4 separate regions of the Homo sapiens genome follow, and regions 1, 2 and 3 are each linked to region 4. The links are contacts of gene promoters, found by promoter capture Hi-C in blood cells and fetal thymus (Javierre and others, 2016). All regions are on one chromosome and are shown on one strand. The core of a region is centred on a gene start or on the middle of the fragment in contact, and the rest is flanking DNA. Distances in the headings are between cores, read along the strand shown. Region 1 overlaps PELI2 (pellino E3 ubiquitin protein ligase family member 2). Region 2 overlaps SOCS4 (suppressor of cytokine signaling 4). Region 3 overlaps PELI2 (pellino E3 ubiquitin protein ligase family member 2). Region 4 holds the start of KTN1-AS1 (KTN1 antisense RNA 1).

Region 1 (5,084 bases), core at 2,298-4,797, 620 kb before region 4:
CTTGTATAAACAAAAACAGAACAGAAGTAAATGGAGATTAGAGCCCAGGCAGAACCGCTACATTCAGTTTCCAAATATGGGCATGTGGAGACACTCAGGACAATCACTAAGGACAACCCAGAAGCATCACATGATGACTCTCATGGGGGAAGACCTTGGGCAGCAAGAGAGAAACTTTTGGCTCACACATGATAGTAATAAAATTGTTTTTGTTTACAGAATTCTTGTAGGAGGAAGGGGGAAAGATACAAGGTAAAATTAATAAAACTTAAGAAAATAACAGTAGAAAAAGTAAGTGAAGTCATAAGCTGGCTCTTTGAAAATATGAGTAAAACAAAAGCTATTTAAGCAAGAAAAGAAGAACAAAAAATATACAAAATTAGGAACAGACAAGGTGATATAATTACAGACACTAATGATTAAAATAAAGTGAACATTATTCACTTTGTCAAAAATCCAGAGTAGATGGAAGATTTTCTAACAAAATATAAAAGTACCAAAATTGACCAATGAATAGATAGAAAACAAGAACCATTTATACCCTCTCTCTACTTGTCATCAATATCCCACCATACTGGGTCATCTCCATCAGCATATAAGCATGCTCTCCTATCATCCATCATTAAAAAGTCATGACCCCCAAGCCCTCCCTAGTTTTGCTACTCCCCATCACTGCACATCTGTTCCAAAGAGCTGTCACATGTGGGCTCTGCACTTGCTCATCTCCTGCTTATGGCTCAGCCACTCCATGCTGGACACTGTCCCCGCTGCTCCATCAGATTTGCCTTAGCCACCATAGCCACCAACCTGCAAGTGGTCAAATCTAAGTCCCTTCCTTTAAGTCGCATCTCACTGGACTCACTCAGTGCATGTGATGTTGTCAGCTACTCCAGTCTGCCTTAGGCACACTCCTCTCATGCTCCATGATGCCACGCTCTCTGGGTTCTCCTCCCTATTTCCTGGTCACTCCTTTTCAGCCTTTGTCTAAAGGATGAATTCACCAATGCTCAGTCCTAAATCTTCTGCCCCTCTCTACATGGTTGAATTCCAGATTCATGTATCCAATTTGTGCCCTCAACTCTTCCCCTCATATCTCACTGGCATCTCAGACTACACAAGACCCAAACCAAACTCTTTGAGTTTCTCCTTAAACCGGCTCCTCTTTTTTGCCTTGAATGGCATCATCATCCATACATTACAATCAATTAATTATTCCTCTGAGAGAGTCCCGTTGCTTCTTCCTCAAAGATATATTCGCTTCTCTGTACTTCTACTCCCACCATCCTAGTTGTATTAGTCAGGGTTCTCTAGAGAAGTGGACCAAAGAGGTGGGTGTGTGTGTGTGTGTGTGTGTGTGTGTGTGTGTGTGTGTGTGTCTTCACCAGTCATGATCCCTGGTGTGTGTGTGTGTGTGTGTGTGTGTGTGTGTCTTCACCAGTCACCATTCCTGGTGTGTGTGTCTGCATGTGTGTGTGTGTGCACAGGCAGGCCGGAGACCCCAGAAAGAACCAAGACTGCAGTTCAAGTCTGAAGGCCATCTGCTGATAATTCCCTCTTGCTTGGATTGGGTTAATCTTTTCGTTCTATGCAAGCTTTTACCTGATGTGCTTTACTCAAAGTCTAGAGATTTAAATGTTAATCTCATCCAAAAACACCTTCACAGAAACATTGAGAATAACACCTGACCACAAATCTAGGCACAATGGCCCAGCCAAGTTAACACATACAATTAACCATTACACTAGTCTAAGCCACTTCATTTCTGGTCTAAGCCAATGCAACAGGCTCTAACTGGTCTCTGTGCTTCCATCCTTTCCTTCCATATCAAAGCCAGAACACCCGCTTCATGCATAAATGTCTCCCCAAACACCCAACAGCTTCCTATTGCAACCAGATTAAAGCCAAGGCCCATGAACAAGACTTGACTGTACCCTCATCTCATCCCAAGCTCCAACTCCCCACTAACCAGCCCTCAAGCCTGCCTCAGAGTCTTAGAATATGCTGACAGTTACACTTCTGCCCCTCTCTGTTTGCAAGACTAAACTCTATGTATGCCTTCATAACTCATCAAAACTTAAATATGTGTCCCTGGCCCTCACAGTATTCTCCACTGTTTGTTTCCTTGACAGTGCTGAGCACCAATGAATATTATATATTTATTTGTTTGATTTCTTATTTATTGCCTGCCTCTGACCCTACAACCTCCATTTGTGCAGGGACCATGTTTGTCTTAACTCATCCCATGCAGAGCCCAGGGCCTGGCACACAGCAGATGCTCAATTAATATTAATTAAATAAACAAAAAATTCTAATGCAAGAAAAATCTAAACACCTAGAATAAAATACTTAAAGTATCTGAAAAAATATGTTACATAAACCTTGAGATAGATAAGCACTTCTTATGCAAAACAAGAAACTTATAAAGCTTAAGTGAGAAAATTCCAGATTTGATTATACCCAACTCAAGTATGAGATGAGACACCATGAACAAAGTTAAAAGATAAACAAAATATATGCAACACATATAACAGATTCTACAAATTAAAAAACAGAAGTCAAACAATACAATTCAAAAATAGGCAAGGAATTTAAATATCACGTAGTTAATAAATGTCAGGAAATTAACAGATTCTAATCTTAACACACCATATCGGCAAAAATTAAGACAAACGTTCCTAAAGTAAAAATATTTTTTAAAGATTATGATTTTAAAATGATCCTATCGGCCATTTTTCAAATGGGCAGTATAATACAATCACAGTGCAGAGGGCAAGACAGCTTTGGCAAGAGAAAAGAATGTACAAAAGCAAGAGGTTGCAGATTTTTTTCTTTCAGCCACATCTGTGATGGATCCACACTGAGTATGTCTGAAGCAGAGGATTACACATTTTCCAAAGCAAAGATTACCAACCTAGAAATAGTGATGTAATTACTGTCTCATCACCAGATATCAAATTATCAGAGACTAAAAGTTTTCTGTGGCTCAAATTGCTTAGTAAACACAGACTTAGAAGGGCCTTCTCCAGAAATAAATGCCAGACACACTAGTTTCAGGGTTCACAATTTCACCGAAAAACCCCTCAAAACAAAAACAAAACGAAAACATGCTTTGGAAAGAAACAGACATCGTTATTTTAAGGAGGGGTGGGGAGTTACTCCTAGGGAATCTCTTCTCTGTAGCCTTTAAATTCATTTGGTATTAATCCTATTTATACAATGTAACCTCCACAATCCTAGAAATTGTACTTAAAAATCACAGTCATAACATTTTAACCATTTCTGTACTTATTGTAGTCACCTGCTGAGTAAACACTTAATTGTACAGAGTCCCTCCTTCTCTACCCACGCCCAGTAATGATAAACTGACATTTTGCAGTTAAATAAAAGCCACATCCTGCCAGCTGGGAATACACTTGCAGAGGCCATGCTCTCCTGTCCGGAGCACTGTCACATGCTGCCTGAAACCACACCTGCCAATCACGGCTTGCGCACATGTGCAGCCTCTGAGACTGGGGCCCAAACTGCCAGCTGGGCAGATTAGGCTTTTTGACATCTGATTCACATTTAAACAACCAGAAGATCTCTGTAGAACCGCTCCCAAACTTAACAAACGGTTTAATATGGACTAACACAGCCAAGGTGGGAAAGTTTCTCCGGATGAGGGGTTTGCAGTGTTTGAACACAGAGAATGGCAGCATTTAGAGGAAAGGTATCCCCACCTGTTTCATTAGTGCCACTATTCGTAAGTGAAAAGATCTCCACTGCCTCTAAAGCCTTTAGCTAAATTGCTGAAAGGCCTTCCACACAGCAATTCTGTTTTACGGCCATTAAAAGGCCCAACTAGCTTCAGAACTGCCTCGGTGGACAGATGCAGTGGAAAGCTGCTTCAGCCTCAAACCAGCTGTGAGGGGAGGGGGTAGGACCACCCAGGGCTGCTCACAGGAAGGGGAAGCTCTGCTCTCTCCTGGCAGTTCCGGTGTTTTGTCTCTCCATGCCCACGTCCCTACTAGAAAATGAGAATGGCAAAATGGTGAGAAGCAGACATAAAGACACAATATGACAAGTAAACAGGGTAGAGACTGAGCCACAAGAGACTTCCAGAAGCATGCTTTTGAAGGGGGTTGGGGATCCCCTTTTAGAAGGATGGTTATAAGGAATACCAAAGAGATTCTCTTCGTCCTCTAGACTTATTTAGCTTGCATGCATCCTTCCACCTGCACAGATGCCTAAAAACATTTCACTAACAGCTGTAGAAACAAAACATGTGTCAAGGAAAAGCATTAAATTAATGAGCATCTAGTTTACAGTTTTAGACTGAATTCTCATCAATGGGAAGTGAATTATCCCACATTCATTAGGGTCATCATTACACACAGTGAATAATAGGATACTTTAATTTTGCACAGCTGGCTCTTGAATCCAAAGCATCAACACTCGGTCCTTATTTTCACTTACATAAAAGACAAGATCCTAAATGTACTAATCTTTTACAATTCTCCATTGACTGAATTTTGAGGCAGAGGAATGGGCACTGGTGGAAAGGAGGCTAGAAGGGTATGGGCGGGGCGGGGGGCATTCTGTGAAAGACTTCATGTGCCAGTCTCTGGACGTGGGGCTGCCTTATCCAGGGCTGCCTTATCCAGTTACCATGGAGAATTATTCAAGCTTTTCAGCGGGGTGAAGGGATGCCCCTGAGCAGACATGCTTCATGTGATGGAGAGAGGGTTCCACATTACCTTCAAAGTATATTTAGCACTTAAGTGTCACATCTAACAGGCATGAATATACTAAGGCCTGCAGTGAAGGGAACACTATCAGTGGCTCATCCATCAGTCCATTCACAAATGTCCACTGCAAATGTCCATGCTAGGGATGGCGACTGGTGAAGAAGCAGATTCTGCAGGATCTGGGCACTCACTGGGGCAGTGGGGCCTGGTATTAAGGAAAGAAAACCTTAAGCGTGATGCAGCTTTCTCACTTAGATTGGACAGGGTAGGTAGTGAAGAGACCACAGCCAAAGACAGGAAAGACAGAGGAGATTCAGAGGGCAACAGCAGTGCAGGGCCGGATGCTGACGACAGGAA
Region 2 (4,871 bases), core at 1,654-4,153, 530 kb after region 4:
GGAAGACATCCCTGGATGTTTTCCACAGCACACACAATTCTCACACTGAAAAAGGGGCAACAGAGGAACTTCAAATACCTAAGCCGAGAGTCTTATTTTTGGGTAAGGGCACACAGGCCTATGGAAAATTACACGACTGGTGTGGACCTAGCCTGTTCTCACTGGTGACAGTGAATCAGCAGTGCCTTGAGCCATGCTGAAACCTGAAGCAACAAGAAATCAGTAATCTGGTCAGGTTTGATTTGAAATTTGGTATCTTGCTCATCATAGGCTTTTTTGCATCAATTCAGATATTACAATATTGTACCAAAACATTGTCTTCCTTAGTCGTATAGTCAAATATTTGTCCCTAAGTGCCTCACCATACCCTAGTCCTGGCGCTGTGTACCAGTAATGGATAGCCTCCAACTTTTCCTTGCCTGCAATCAGCCAGTAGCTGAGCACGTTGGAGGGGTCTAGATCTAGGCCATTCCTGTCCCTGTGGGCTTCTCTACAGGCAACCTTTGCTTGGGAACCAAGTCCTCATCTAGCAGTCTCAAGATGCACTGAAGTCCGAAGCTCCCCTACCCAATCCTTCCTTCTAGGTGTCAGACTTTCTGTGTGGTATGAAGAATTCCCCACCTTCTGCTCCCTTCTCTATCTTTCTAGGTGTTTCACTCCAAATAAATCTCTTGCACCTCTAATCACATTTTGGCACCTGCTTCTGGAAGTCCCAAACACAAAAAAACTAAAAGGAGTGTATTATAAATTAGAAAATATGTAAGAATATGGGTTTCTCTATCTTTTTCAGATTCTAAGTTGAATGTGTGAAGTAAAGACTATGTTTTTAAAATAAAACACAAAGCCTTTGGATTTTACATAGGAAGTTTTAATTAAGTAGAAATGAAAATTTATCCAGATCAATTTATTTGAACTTACATCCAAGAAGAAACATTCAACTTAAGGATTAGAAATAAAAGTGGCAATTGTCTACTTCTTTTGTGGTAAGGAATAGATCATACAAGCCTGACTGATGAGAGTAATAGCTTTGTGAAAACTGTATATTCGAGTACATGTGAACTCATACTTGGCTTATACAGAATTTATCCAATTCTAGCAAAGTCAGCATAATTTAAATAAACCTCCTTGAGTTTTACACCATGGCTCTCAAGTCTGAAAGCTTAGATTTGATTATAACCATGGCAAAAGTGATTATCTTTATTTTCTGAAAACGTAATCAACTTTTAAAATAAGTTAAGCAAACATCAGTTTTACACAGACCATATGAAGGGTAGGAGGAAACTGCAATTGTTCCTCTAATTGCAGAGCCTAAACCATAAATTCAAATTGTACTGCTATCTCTACTGTTAAAACAAGTCAAGAAAGTCTTTTACAGTCTAAGAGAAGTGAATGTAATTATGCAGCATCCACTACAAAGATATTTTGAAAACCTATCATCATGTTAGTACTCAATGGCTGTACAGCAATTATTTTAAAGTACGCTCCCAGGGTCACCTCTTGCTGAAGAATTAACTCCAGGAAGTCGAGTTACAAGTATCACCTACATTTTATAGGAAATAAAGGCAAAGATTTAGGACTGAGTCATCTGTTCAAAATTAGAAAGTAAATAAAAAAATAGACTTTGGTTTTATTTGAAAATCCCTTTCTATTGGGTTATATCCATTAATCTACATTTCAACTTCCAAGCCAATCTATTTTAAAAAGTTACCTCCATTTTGTGTCCAATATCTTACTGTATTAGAATAGTACAGGTAGACTCTTGCACTGCTCATTTCTAGTAGGCCATTAATAAAGAAAAGAAAAACCTTTGTGCTTTCTGTTCTTTCCTTAAATTACAAATGTAAAACTGACTTTTTTCCCCCAAAGTAGAAACAGTAGTTTGCTTGACGAAAAATCTTTTATTCACTTGGGCATTACATTACCTAACATTACACAGGCTATTTTGCTTTTAAACATTGTTTTCCTTGTGTTGTCTCCAGGAATCTCTTATAATTTTGTCTATTTTCCTGTGAAATTTGCTTTACCAAAATGAATGCGTAAGCTGTTTATTGGATTCTGACAATAGCTAAAAGCGACAAGAAATATTTTAATGAAAAGTAAGCGTGAGTTAGATCTTGGCCGGGCACAGTGGCTCATGCCTGTAATCCCAGCACTTTGGGAGGCTGAGGCGGGTGGTCACCTGAGGTCAGGAGTTCGAGACCAGCCTGGCCAATGTAGTGAAACACCATCGCTACTAAAAATACAAAAATTAGCTGGGCGTGGTGGCACACGCCTGTCATCTCAGCTACTTGGGAGCTGAGGTAGGAGAATTGCTGGAACCTGGAAGGCAGAGGTTGCAGTGAACCGAGATTGCGCCATTGCACTCCAGCCTGGGCTGACAACAGCGAGACTCTGTCTCAAAAAAAAAGAGATCTCAAGGTTTTTGTTTCATAGGAAGGAAGCTCTCTATTGCGTGGATCTATAAAATGATCCAAACTTCAGAGACAGGAAGCTGATAACTGGATTTATCTTCTTAATGGCTTTGGCTCATGAATAAATGATAATGGTTTATGTGTTTTTCTTATAAAAAGAAATGGAATTTGTATACCGATAGGAGTCCTACTTGCCACATTTGTTCTACTTATTAAGGGATTTCTAATTACTGAGACATTCTTTATATTATTTATAATAAGAAGTCAAAACTTTAACTGAAAGCCATTCTTTGACCACAGTTGGCCATTAGCTGAAATTCAGGAAATAGCACAGGTTTGATCACCAAATCAATAAATCTAGCCACAGGCTGACTAAAAGCTTCCTTTAATCTTCTTCCTATTAGGTCTTCCTTTAAATTAAACCATTCCCTTCATGAATTATTTAAGTGAATGGCATGGTTATAGAAAGATCACATATAACTCTATACAAAAATGCTAAAGGAACCTTAAAAAGTCCATTCAGCATACTTCAGGAATTATACTATGAATCAAGATGCTGTAGGCTTAGAAAAAAATGGGAGTGGGAGTATGTCCTGTAAAGCTTCAGAGAAAAATAGAAAAGTCAAGTTTATTTCCTGATTAGCCCAGGATGATTCCCAAAGCGCAGTTAAGTGTCTGGTCCAGACTAGCTATTAGCGATTAAGTAGTTTCTTTTCACTGTCAAGGCTTTTCCCTGAGGTAATGCCTAAATTCCTAATTTTAATATTTGATCTTATTTCTCTTAGCTCCATCCTCTCTCACCAATAAGCTCTCCACATTTCCACCATGCTAAATGCTTTCTCAACTCTGGAATTTACACTGTTCAAATCTTCCCTTTGTTCAACAGTTATAAAATTTTAGACAAATTTATACATTCCCACATTGTTCCTCTCAAAATTTACTCATTTATATAGTGCAATCAATATATTGTTTACATTTTATATAGGTTAGTTTCTGAATACTGTATGTTCTTCCAAATGTATCCTTACAAAGACACAGAGGAAGGGGGTAACCTTTCTGAATTCCAATTCCTTAATGTTTTAAAAAAAATTATTACTCTTTTCTTTTCCCTTAAACAATTCCCTTCTCAAGTCTTTATGTATCTACTTTCCAAACTTCTTTTCACTGTAGCAAATACCAAAGGAAAAATAAAAATCATTTCAGAGTCAATGAATCTCCTCCCTGCTCTCATTTATTAGATCAACTACTTCAAGGCTACATATGTGGCAGTACTTTTTAAGTGTTAACAGCTGTTAATACCTTGAAGTTGAAAAAATAAAAAAGCCAGAGAAAACATATCACAAGCAATCAGTTTGAATTATATGAAAAGGTACTTAGATCTTGACTTTCATATAAATACTAATTTTAACACTATAAAAGACAACATAACTATATATCATTTTTCTTTATAAAACTACCCCTTAACAGAATATTTGTAAGCTAGTCATCCCTTAGGTTTTTCTGTACTGATAAAAAGTTATTTTTAAAAGAAAAATATTTAAAATAATTGTTTCACAGAAACAGAAAATCTTATCAAATTCTGATAAAAAACTATAATCATGGGTACTCTTACCACACTATTTTCTTTCACCAAAGATGGATATTTAGGAAGTGGTATATTGGTTAATAAGATAAGCTTCTCAGTGATCTACAAAAGCGCCACAATAAAGATGAGGTAGTATGAGACTTTTCTAACCTTGTAAAAGGTAAATATCGTCTTTAGAAGAGATATTTATCCTGACATTGGTGTTATGATATCCGATATCCTGAGCCTCATCACTGCTAAGAGGTGCCATTTTTGTAGCTACATCTCATTGAGACTAAGACAATCTTGAGATCACTGAGGAAAAAAAAAATGCTAAAAGATAACGGTAATAGAGATTTTCCTTAATTTTGTAATAATTACTAAAAAATTATTTTAAAGCTATTATGGAAAAATGCCATTTTCATGTTAACAGAACTGCAAGATAGGGAAATGCTACTCACATAAAAGCAACAATAATGAAGAAATATTTGTTCTAACTTGGAAGTTTATGAGTCAAATTTCTTTCAATCTAGGTAGAAGCAGTTTCCTAATATAGCTAAACTAGCATCAAGAAATCAGTTACGATATTAAAAATGTCAATGTGTACAAAGGGTTAGACAGCTCACCAGAAGAAAATTGTCTATCTACATTTATTATTCATTGATTCCTTAAAAAAAGAAGATAGGATACCACTCCATTTATTTTTACTAGTTACTTTGGGCTAAAGATGTTTCTAAAAACGTTGCCCTGTTTCTGGGATAGTAAATTTAAAATATCACCCCTTTTGTCCAGTACTGTTCTGTATGGTGTAAGTCATGTAGCTGTCAAAAGGCTTTCTTTTTTTGAAGCCACATTACAGACTAAGTTAATTCTGAAGATAGGGATAATTATTTGGA
Region 3 (5,572 bases), core at 2,716-5,215, 590 kb before region 4:
CCACAGGTAAGAACCCTGGTTTTAAAGACAAAATTCACAGTAACTGGTAACCCGTTTGGATGCACAGGGTGAGGGATAAAGGGAACAACATACAGCCTTCTGGCCTGGCCAGAGTGACAGCATTGTTAGGAACAGGAATTACAGGGACATCCGGGGGGAGGCATGGAGGAGGCAACTGAAGTTAGGTCTGGAGCTCCAGAGAAATTATAACCCTGGGGCCTTCACCATGCAGGGGCAGTTAAAGTCATGAGAATAATATAGGCTACTCAAGAAAAAGGTGCAGAATAAGGAGGCAAGGAAAGCTGGGACAGAGCCTGGGAAATTCAACTATTTAAGGAAACAGCCCTTTCTTTGTCACAAGCATAAGGACCAGGACCAGGAAAAAGTTATATCGCCAAAGACCAAAGAATTTCAACAGTGTCTAATCAGTTAAGAGGTCAGTTAAGAGAAAGAAAATGCACAACCACGATTTGGAAAAGAATGAGTCATTGGTGATCTCACCCATCTTCAAAACAAAGCAAAAACAAGCAAATGCCTCCAACCCTAAGCTTCACTATGAGCCTCCACTCTGATTTCCATTGTCTCCTCACAAAGCCAAGAATCTTGAAAAGTACCCACACCCATTATTCTGCTTCCAATACTTGCTGGCTTTTCAGTCCACTATCATTCAATCTTTGCCCCCAGATCCAAAAGTACATTTGATCATTCATCATACAGCCGGCACACCAACCAACCTCCCCTCCTTAAGAGTCTCCCAGCCGCTCTCCTATCAAGGAACCCAGTGTGGCAGATTAAAGAGGGCTTCTTCTCCCACTAAGAGGTGGAGTCTAACTCCCCTCTCCCTAAATCTGGGCTGGCTCTAGTGGTTTGCTTACTAACAACATGCAAAGGAAGTGATGTTCTGAGACTTCCAAAGGCCAGTGTGAAAAGCCGACTACCCTGGGACCACCATGCTGGGCAGGCCACATGTAGGCACTCTGCTCAGCGGTCCCAGCAGAGCCCACCCTTCCAGCCACCCCGCTAAGGCAGCAGACATGAGTGAAGCCATCATGGACACTCCAGACCAGCTGATGACCACCAGGTAACCTCAGCTGATACCATATGGGGCAGAACTGCCCAAACTCCTGACCCACAGAATTGTGCATTAAGTAACATGTTTTAAGCCACTAAGTTTGGGGTAGGTGGTTACACAGTAATAGATTCCTGGAACAGGAAGCCCCAAACCCTTCCCACAGTCATCCTCTCCCTGCCAATCTTTTTTTCTTTTTCTTTTTTTTTGAGATGGAGTCTCCTCTGTCACCCAGGCTGGAGTGCAGTGGCATGATCCTGGCTCACGACAACCTCCGCCTCTCGAGTTCAAGTGATCCTCATGCCTCAGCCTCCCGAGTAACAGGGACGACAGGTGCACACCACCATGCCCAGCTATTTTGGGTATTTTTAGCAGAGACAGGGTTTCGCCATATTGGCCAGGCTGGTTTCGAACTCCTGACCTCAAGTGATCCGCCCACCTCAGCCTCCCAAAGTGCTGGGATTACAGGCATGAGCCACTGTGCCCAGCTGGTCCCCAATCTATTTTAAGTGGAACACTGTCACCTCCTCCTGAAAACTATCACCAAATCTTCCCCTGCCTATTCACACCCCCCATCTGGCCCATCTGCCTCCTAGGGAATGTGAGTTCTAAAAAAGTGAGGCCTTCTGTATCTCTGGCACCTGGCACAGTGTAACAGGGACACACGGTAGGCAATGAAAACCTACAAGCTGGCTGGCTGATGAGAGGACCATTATCTTAGTATGTTTTGTGCTGCTATAACAGAATACCTGAGACTCAGTAATTTATAAAGAACAGAGATTTCTTTCTTACAGTTCTAAAGACTGGGACGTCCAAGGTCAGAGAGCCTGCATCTGGAGAGGCCTGCTTGGCCTCCCTAGATGTTTCATCCCATGGTGGAAGGGTAAGAGAGCATGTGTACCAGAGAGAGCAAGAAATTGAACTCATCCTTTTATCAGGAACCCATTCCTGATATAACACCATTAATCATTTACAAGGGTGGAGCCGTCATGACCTAATCACCTCTTATAGGTCCCGCCTCTCAACACTGTTGCATTGGGGATTAAGTTTCCAACACATGAACTTTGAGGGGCACATTCAAACCATAGCAACCATCTTTTGTATAGTAGAATAGAGCCCAGTCATAAAGACAAAATTCTGCTTACAAAGGCAAAAAGTTACTGTCCCATGAAAGAAGGTCAGAACGTTCCCTGGGCTGGCACGCTTTTCAGCCAGTAAGTTTGTAGAAATAAAATGTCCGAGTGCTGCTGCCACACCTGTTTCAGCTGCTGCAACAGGGGTGTTTCAATTCGAGCCCATAAGAGCCTTTCAGGCTTAACTTTCTTTTTTATTCTGGAGACTTAAAAACAGTTATTTAATAAATGTGTGATGAAAATTTAACTCTTCATATATGCAGAGCAAACAGTTGGTCTTTACAGTAAGGGTATTTGGGAGCTGCAAAGAATAATGAAAATGCTGTGTAAGAAACTTAACCAAGTAATAAAGGGTTTTTCTGTTTTATAGTTTAGAGTTCATATATTAATTCACATATTAATGGGAATTAATAACATTTGCTGTACACTTACTATGTGCCAAGAAACCCTGTGAAGGAGACATTATTACTCCTAGTGGACAGATAAAAGGCTCAGAATGGCTGATCACACACGAACTTACACAGTTAGGAAATGTCAGGCAGAACCTAAAGCTACATCAGTTCTGTCTGACTCCAAATTTCATACTCTTTCCAGTAGACAACACTGACAGTTTTTAAATTCAAGACATTTTTTGGCATACAGTGCAAAGATGGAGTCTTAAAAAGATGTCTGCCACCTAAAAATGTATTTGTCAATAAGAATTTTCTAAGGGAAACCAGAGCAAGAAGGGGGATGCTAGGTGCTCCCAGTCACATTTTGGAGACGTCACGGTTTATCTTAACTAGCCTGAACTCTTACAGCGACATCCACATGGAATGGAAGCGATGTGGGCTCCAGAAGTGGAGGTTGCATCAGCATCACAGGATCACATTCCAGAGGTGGTCAGCTCTTCATTACAGGCTGAAGACTCCGCCTTCCTTCCAAAGCAACTGCTCTGTCACTTGCACCAACAAATCACAAGCAACTACTATGATCAAAGTAGACTGTACACTGCAGATGAACAGGACGTGACACTAGAGACAGACAGACTCAAAGGCAGGGCACACAGTCTCTGAGAAAACCCTGCAATCTGGCACCAGTCTTGAGGTAGCTCACCCTAACTCACTGTATAAATGCACTATTCCAACCGCGTTTAAGGAAATGCCCATATGCCAATAAGCGCCTAACATTGGTTTTATGAAATTATAGTCCCAACCCTCTTATTATTTAACCTATCATATATGCATGGACTTCCCCTGACCCAATGGACTATAAAGCCCAGAAACGCAACAACGTTTATTTCTCTTTGCTTAAGAAATGCTGCATATAGGAGGAGGCGGAGCAATATGGCAGAATTAAAGGCTCCACCCATTGTCCCACCTCACAAGGACACCAAGTTAACAACTATCTACACAGAAAAAACACCTTCATGAGAACCAAAAATCAAGTAAGCACTGATAATACCTGGTTTTAACTTCATTATCACTGAAAGAGGCTCTAGAAGAGACAGAAGAAACAGTCCTGAATCACTGACACCATCCCTTCCACACCCCACGCAGCAGCAACAAGCCTAGTGCTAAGAGCTTCTCTGGGAGCTGAGGAGGGAGAGCACAGTAATGGTGAGGCATTGAACTAAGTGCTGTTCTGTTAGAGCAAAAGGAACACCAGACCAACTCAGCTGACGCCCAACCACGGAGGGAGCATTTAAACCAGCCCTGGCCAATCGCCTATCCAGTGGTCTGAACTTGAGTCCCCGCAAACCTCACCACCAAGGGATACAGTGCTCTGTGTCTCCATGTAAACTTGGAGGGCAGTCGAGGCCAGAAGGACTGCATCTCTTAGGTGAGTCCTAGTGATGAGCTAGGCCCAGAGACCGTGGGCTTGGCGGCAGGGAGAGGAGGGACACATGACATACTTAGACACCAGCTGGAACAGCCCAGGGAGTGTTGGCATCACCCCTCCCCTAACCTCAGGCTGCACAGCTTGTGGCTCCAAAAGAGACCCTTTCCTTCTGTCCAACTGAAGAGAGGAGACGGTAGAGTGGGGAGGACTTTGTCTTGCATCTTGGATAACAGCTGAGCCGCAGCAGGATAGGGCACCAGTCAGAGTCATGAGGTCCCCATTCCAGGCCCTAACTCCCAGATGACATTTCTAGATACAACCTGGGCAAGAAGGGAACCCACTGCCTTGAAGGGAAGGACCCAGTCCTGCCAGAATTCATCACCTGTTAACTGAAGAGCCCTTGAACCCTGAATAACCAGCAGTGATACCCAGGTACTACATCAAGGGCCTTGGTGGCTTCTGGTGAGACTTGCTGGCTTCTGTTGAGACTCAGCACATTCCCAGCTGTGGTAGCTATGGGGCAAAACTCCTTCTGCTTGACAAAGGCAGAGGGAAAAGCAAAGGGCACTTTGTCTTGCACCTTACGTACCAGCACGGCCACAGGGGGGTAGAGCACCAAGCAGAATCTTGGGGTCCCTGATTCTAGGACTTGACTCTTGGATGGCATTTCTGGTCCTTCCCTGGACCAAAGGGGACCCCACTGCCCTGAGGGTGAGTCCCAGGCCAGGCAGCATTCACAACAAGCTGACTTAAGAGACTCTAGGCCGTAAGGGAACATTGGCAGTAGTCTGGCAGTACTCCTCATGGCCTAGGGTGGCAGTGGCTAAGGGGTAAGGCTTCTCTGCCTTTGGAAATGGAAGGCAAGAACAGGAAGAACTGCACCTTCTAGTTTGAGGGCCAACTCAGCCACAATAAAATAGAACACCAGGTAGACTTCTAAGGTTTTTGACTCTAGTCCCTGACATCAGGGCAGCACTTTTGGACCCACCCAGGGTCTGGGGGGGGGCACGCTGCTCAGAAGGGAAGGACACAGCCTGGCTGGTTTTGCCACCTGCTGATTACAGAGCCCCAGAGCCTTGAGTGAACATAGGCAGTAGCCAGGGAATAGTTACAGCAGGCCTTGGGCAAGACCCAATGCTGTGCTGGCTCCAGGTCTGATCCAGTGCAGTCACAGTGGTGCTGGCCACAGGGGTGCTTGTGTCACTCCACCCCCAGCGTTAGGTGGCTCAGAAGAGAAAGAGACTCTGTATGGCTGGGAGAAAGTAAGAGAAGAGAAAAAGAGTCTCTGCCTGGCAATCCAGAGAATTCTCCTGGATTTTGTGCAACACCATCAAGGCAGTTTCTCTCTGAGTCTCCAAGAACCACAGTGTTACTGGGCCTGAAGTGCCCCCTAAAGCCGATATAGCTTAGATCACAACACCTAAGTCCTTTCAAATATCCAGCAAGCCATCCCAAAAAGGAGGGCTACAAATAAGCCCAGAAAGTGAAGACTACAGTAAGTACCTAATTTTTGAATGCCCAGACACTGAAGAACATCTACTAGCATCAA
Region 4 (5,334 bases), core at 2,341-4,840:
AGATTGTCAGAGGAATATAAAAAGAAAAGTGAAACAAGGACTGAGCATGTCAAGTTTAAGAGTAGAAGATGTAAGATAGAATGAACAAAGCAATTAGGAAGGAGAAAGCCCAAAAAGCAGAATGTCCTGGAAGAAGAGTGCAAACAAATTACATTTAGTGTACAAATCACTTTGCTGAAACCAGATTTAAGTTACGGAAGAGTTCTTAATCTCCCTGTAGTAGCTAGGACGATTCGTAAAATACTAAATCATAACTTTTTTTAGGGTATGTCTTCTACATTTCCGAGGAATATTATATTTCCTATCAGAGTATCTACTAAAACTATTGTTAGAATTAAAAGTATATCTTGCCTATTTTCTTTTACATAAAACCAATTAAAAGCTTGTACCATTTTTTAAAAAAGAAAAATAGCCTAGTTTTCACTGCCACCTCTGTCAAAAACACATTTAAGCACAACAGCTCGGCACACAGTTGTAAACTGTCATTATTTCTCTTTCTCTAGACCTCAGATACAGAAGGTTAAATTAAACCCCTTAGTTCACAGCACATAAGGTTCTTCCCCTTAATGTTTAATTTTCTATTTATAGAGGAGGGAAAAAGGCTTATATTCTCATCTAGACCAATATTTTCCCAGTGATTTGAAAATAAATTACATTTTTTGATTGGGACAAAGTCATGTTCACAGGAACTGAAAGAGGAAGCAATGAAATGCAATTCTCTTTGAGCATGAGTGATCACCAATGTCACTTCTAGAGAAATAGTTACTTGCTTGTATCCTCTAAGTATACTCTGGATTTACCTTCAAAGTCACTAAAAACAGTACAGAGAACAAGCAGGTCATAAGGTGTATTCTCAAATATATGAACGATCTTGCAAAGCACGATTTTTCTCATTTCCTTATTACATATTAGGTCAGATTCCCAAGAGAACCAAAACCTTCCTAGAACCACTTAAGTTCATTAACAATTTAATATTTTAACAAAGTATTGGAGATCTTTCAGGTTAAAACTTCATTTGCTATAAAAATTATAGGCATACAATTAAAAACACATGTTCCATTCAAGTTAAGAAATTAACTTACACATAGGAAATGTATAAGACACATTCAACTTTTAAAAAAACAATTATGATTCAGTATTCTACGTGTCATCTTAACCATGACAGGCTGATTAAGAACTTTTAACCATAACTTAACATTCAAGTTAAGAACTTAAGAACAGTGACAATCTTAATATGGGTTCTTTAGAAGTCTCAAAAAGGTTTTCACGTCTTAGGCTCTTTTAAAAAGCCATATTGACTGATATTAAAAATATAATTATTAAAACGATCTCCCTACCAAAAGCAGATTAAAGCCTATAAACTAGAAGGGAGACTGAAGTGAGGCATTTTTAGGGACAAACACAACATCAAACAGAAGAGACTACTGGTATTAAAAGAATACAGAAAGATCTAAATTGGAAACAAAATCGTAAATGTCTCTTCATAATGCTGACGCTGAATCATTAAGAGTTAAATACTTGATATTCTTTATAATTTTCAAGTATTAAGAAAATTTTTCAATAGATCTTGTTATATTTTCAAATTCATTATCAGCCTCAAGTAAATCAAGTAGAACACCTTATTCTCTAAGCTCACTTGATAAGGTATTGTTATGTCTGATGAAGGCTACAAAATTAGAAGAGACATTTGAAACTCAATGTTGGGGTGGGAGGGAAACTCATGAACAGACCCAGCTATTTCAGGTTAGATCCTTAAACTAAAAAAAAAGGAAAAAGGAAAAAAAAAAAGAGCCTTTTTTATCAGGCAGCACATCAAATATGAAAGTCTACTGCAAGGCATGTCTACCCAAAATACTCAAGAGTAATTTAGTGTTATTCTTGGGATCATTATCCCAAGTCTCACCAGCTTGGGATCATTATCCCAAGTCTCACCAGCAATTGCTTCGGACCAAACTGGAGACACTGTTGCCATTAGCCTGCTAGGTAAGCTAAGGAAAACAAATGCAACCTAATTTAGCAAAAATTCTAACTTTAAGTCAACTCCTATACAATTCAGAACCTTTAGTTCACCGAAGATGCTTATCTTTAGCTGGGCTGGCCATGAGTGTCTACATTTCTCAAGGCTTTCCACAAAGTCATCACACACACACACACCTTAACAGTTAACTTCAACCGTAGCTCTTTACTCAAGGCTTTCCACAAAGTCATCACACACACACACTCACACACACACACACACCTTAACAGTTAACTTCAACCGTAGCTCTTTAAGCACTACTAACTTAAATAGCGGCTAAGGAATCCGTTTGCCAACACAGTTCTGAATTTAGATTCCTCCTTCCTCCCACAGGAAAGAAGGGCCAACACTGAACAGCTTACTTTCAACCTAACCTAGTCAAGGTGCAACTGGGGCCGGCTGGGACGCCGCTGCCCGCGTCCGGGGCTGCCCACATCTAGTGCACCCAGCGCCTTCACCGCCAGCATGCGGGGCTGCACATCCCACACCAGACGTATGGCTGAGAGCCAGACGACTTCTCTAGACTTCCCGCGTAGTTTTCCGGCGAGGTCCCCAAGGCCAAAAATCTCACTTTTGGAAACTGAAGGGGTCAGGCCGAATCGCTAGGACACACCCCTCGGGGACAGGAAGGGATAACTTCGCCGGTGTCGAGAGTGGTCCATGGATTTTTCCAAAGTCCCCCCTCATGCTGCTTTCCGTGCCCAACCGCCTCCCGCCCTGACCTGGGGACTCGCAAAGGGCAGCGGGAGGGGCGCCGGGGAAGGGGGCGAGCGCCCAGACCGCCGGAGGCAGCGGCGAGGACTGGAACTCCAGCATGGCGTAAGTGTGGCCCAGCTCCGGCCCGGGGACGCCGCCGGAGACGCGCTGCCTCCGTCCACCGGCCGAGGAGGCGGTAATCCGCCTTCCCTCCCGGGGGCCCTCAGGCTTGGCTAAAAATAGGTGCCTCGGTCACCCCAGGGCCCGCTCGGGTCGACCTCGCCTTCGGGAGAGTCGTCCTTGGGGAGGGTGGGGGGTGTCCCTCGGCCGCGCCCCGGGTGCCGCGACAGAGCCGGGGTCGGGCCCAGAGCGGCCCCGCGAGGCCGAGGAGGTCCCTCCGAGCCCGCCCCCTGCGGCGTCCCGGCCCCAACAAGAGCCCCGCGGCGGCAACCGGATGCCCGAGGCCTACCCAGCGGGCGGCGTCCGGGCCCCGCGGCCGCGCCCCCCCGCCCGGCGCGGCCCTCCCGCCTGCCCCAGGACCCCGCGGCCGGCGCCGCCTCCCCCCGCGCTCCCCGCCGCCGGCGCCCGTCCCGGTGCGGCCTGCTCTCCCTCACCCTGTGCGGCCGGGAAAGGAGACCGGGAAGACGCGGCGGCGCCGGCACTACAGCCCGGGCCGCCCGCTCCGAGGCGCCGCCGCCGCCGCCGCCGCCGCCGCAGTCGCTCAGGTGCCGTCGCGCCGCTCGGCAGGAAACGGGCGGCTTCGGGGCGGGGCGGGGCGGACCCGGCACGTCCTGGCGTCTGGGCCGGCGGCGCCGGGAGACCGGCCCCTTAAAGGGACAGCCGCCGGCCCGCCTCTGCCTCCGCGCGCCTGCCCACGCGCTCCGGTACTCGCTGCTCGCGGCTGGCCGGCTCGGGATTCCGGGCTTTCTTCCCGAGACCGCGTCCCCCAGCTGGGCCGAAGGTGGACGCTCAGGGGCTGGAGGCTCAGCGGAATCCCCTGCGTTCAGTAGCCCCGCTCTCCCCTGTCCCGAAGGTTGGTCTCGTCTCGCGCGGCCCTCCCTCCAGGGCACCACCTGGCTCCCCACGCCTTTTAACTTCAGCAAACGGCACTAGATTTACCCCCTGACTATCCCAGATTTCCCCCAGAAATTACTGGAAAACGACATCCCCCGTCCCTTTCTCCAGGGGATCTCTCTGAAATCTCCTTCGGGCAACGCTAGCTACAAACGGAGAAAGAAATTAGAAAGCGACCCAAATAATGGTCGGGCGCGGTGGTTCACGCCTGTAACCCCAGTACTTTGGGAGGCCAAGGCAGGCGGATCACCTGAGGTCAGGAGTTCGAGACCAGCCTGGCCAACATATAGTAAAACCCGTCTCTGCCAAAAAAAGTACAAAAAATTAGCTGGGCATAGTGGCGCACGCCTGTAGCCCCAGCTACTTGGGAAGCTGAGACAGGAGAATCGCAGGAATCTAGGAGGCGGAGGTTGCAGTGAGCCGAGATCTCGCCACTGCACTCCAGCCTGGGCGAGAGAGTAAGACTCTCCGTTTCTCTCAAAAAAAAAAAAAAAAAAAGGAAAGAAAAGAAAGCGACCCAAATGAGTTGTGTGCAAACATTATGAAAGTGTTGTGACTGCCAGCTGGTAGCCATTTATGAAGCCGGGGTAAAAATCTAGAAACTGCTGCGCGAGGAGGGATGGGCCCGGATCTCTCCTTATTCGTTTGCTCTTTGCTGAAAGGATGGCAGCGATCCTCCCCGTCCACTGGCAAGTGAGTTTCGTGTGGATTGTTTACCGATGATCAATCTCTCACAGGAGGCCAGGCACTGCCCCACTACATGTACAAAACACTCCAAGCTGTCCGCAAATGTTATGAAGGCTTAAAATAATCCTAACGATTCCAGACTGTGGATAGAGATAGAAAAAATTAGGACTCACCACCACCACCTCGCCCTACATCTGACAAAGTGGGAACAGAAGCAGTTAAGGAATGAACAGCAGAACCGTTTCTACACCAACAGAATTTCCTGTACATGGGCTGGTTAAAAGTATCCATACTTTTTATTCTAATCATTTCTAAGTTTTCTAGAGCACCTCCAAAATACAAATGAAAACTGCGCAGTGTATAGTGGCCTGAGATATTGAGAATTCTGCCAGTCTTCAGTCACCGTGTTCTCCACAGATGCATTGTCTTATTTTAACTCCAGAGGCGTCCTCTTTTTTCTTTCTCATTAGGATTACTCTGCCCCTCAGCGGTTCCAGTGCCCTCAAAGCAATCTGTCTCTGAAGTACTGGCTATCTTCTGAGCGTGTGCCAGAAGATCCAGCTTTGTTGAAAAGCGAAGCCGTTAGTCCCTTAATACAAAGGGTAAGTGTATCATTTATGTAATGGAGTTTAAGGGCTCTTGATTAGCTTACAAACAACCATGTTATTTCCTCAGGTTAGTACTAACGCAGGTTTTAGGTTAGAATTAAAAATTTATATCATTCATTTTCCTGACCAGTAAAACCGCAATGTCATTTACAGGCAATAATATTTCGGTGCACTTGTAAGTAAGACAATGAGTGGAGTTTAGGATTTTCTCAAAACATACTACTGCTTATACTAAAGGATGACTTTGTATCA

What was found. Contacts are between HindIII fragments. The CHiCAGO score rates a contact against its expected background, and 5 or more counts as called.
Region 1: a contact is called between a fragment that was not itself captured here and the fragment with the promoter of KTN1-AS1 in region 4, in 1 of 17 cell types (fetal thymus). The highest score is 5.3, in fetal thymus.
Region 2: a contact is called between a fragment that was not itself captured here and the fragment with the promoter of KTN1-AS1 in region 4, in 3 of 17 cell types (non-activated CD4 T cells, total B cells and total CD8 T cells). The highest score is 6.1, in non-activated CD4 T cells.
Region 3: a fragment that was not itself captured here is called in contact with the fragment with the promoter of KTN1-AS1 in region 4 in 1 of 17 cell types (fetal thymus); the score reaches 5.0 in fetal thymus.

The regions. Positions count from the first base shown.
Region 1 is chr14:56,194,262-56,199,345 of GRCh38, reverse strand. The region is part of intron 2 of PELI2 (pellino E3 ubiquitin protein ligase family member 2); the gene reads right to left. Among named protein-coding and RNA genes, the nearest start is that of PELI2, 78 kb to the right of the region's middle. RefSeq lists an enhancer at 1-154. The HindIII fragment of the contact is 2,240 bases long and covers 2,428-4,667 here.
Region 2 is chr14:55,045,465-55,050,335 of GRCh38, reverse strand. It overlaps SOCS4 (suppressor of cytokine signaling 4), which reads right to left. Exons shown (of 3, transcript NM_199421.2): 3 at 847-4,871. Among named protein-coding and RNA genes, the nearest start is that of MAPK1IP1L, 3.7 kb to the left of the region's middle. The HindIII fragment of the contact is 222 bases long and covers 2,793-3,014 here.
Region 3 is chr14:56,167,721-56,173,292 of GRCh38, reverse strand. The region is part of intron 1 of PELI2 (pellino E3 ubiquitin protein ligase family member 2); the gene reads right to left. Among named protein-coding and RNA genes, the nearest start is that of PELI2, 52 kb to the right of the region's middle. The HindIII fragment of the contact is 6,830 bases long and covers 551-5,572 here.
Region 4 is chr14:55,578,348-55,583,681 of GRCh38, reverse strand. It overlaps KTN1-AS1 (KTN1 antisense RNA 1), which reads left to right and starts at 3,590. Exons shown (of 3, transcript NR_027123.1): 1 at 3,590-3,746; 2 at 4,945-5,076. KTN1 (kinectin 1) reads right to left here and starts at 3,475. Exons shown (of 44, transcript NM_001079521.2): 1 at 3,328-3,475. RefSeq lists silencers at 2,157-2,451, 2,631-3,270, 3,331-3,590 and enhancers at 4,031-4,120, 4,131-4,250. The HindIII fragment of the contact is 5,026 bases long and covers 385-5,334 here.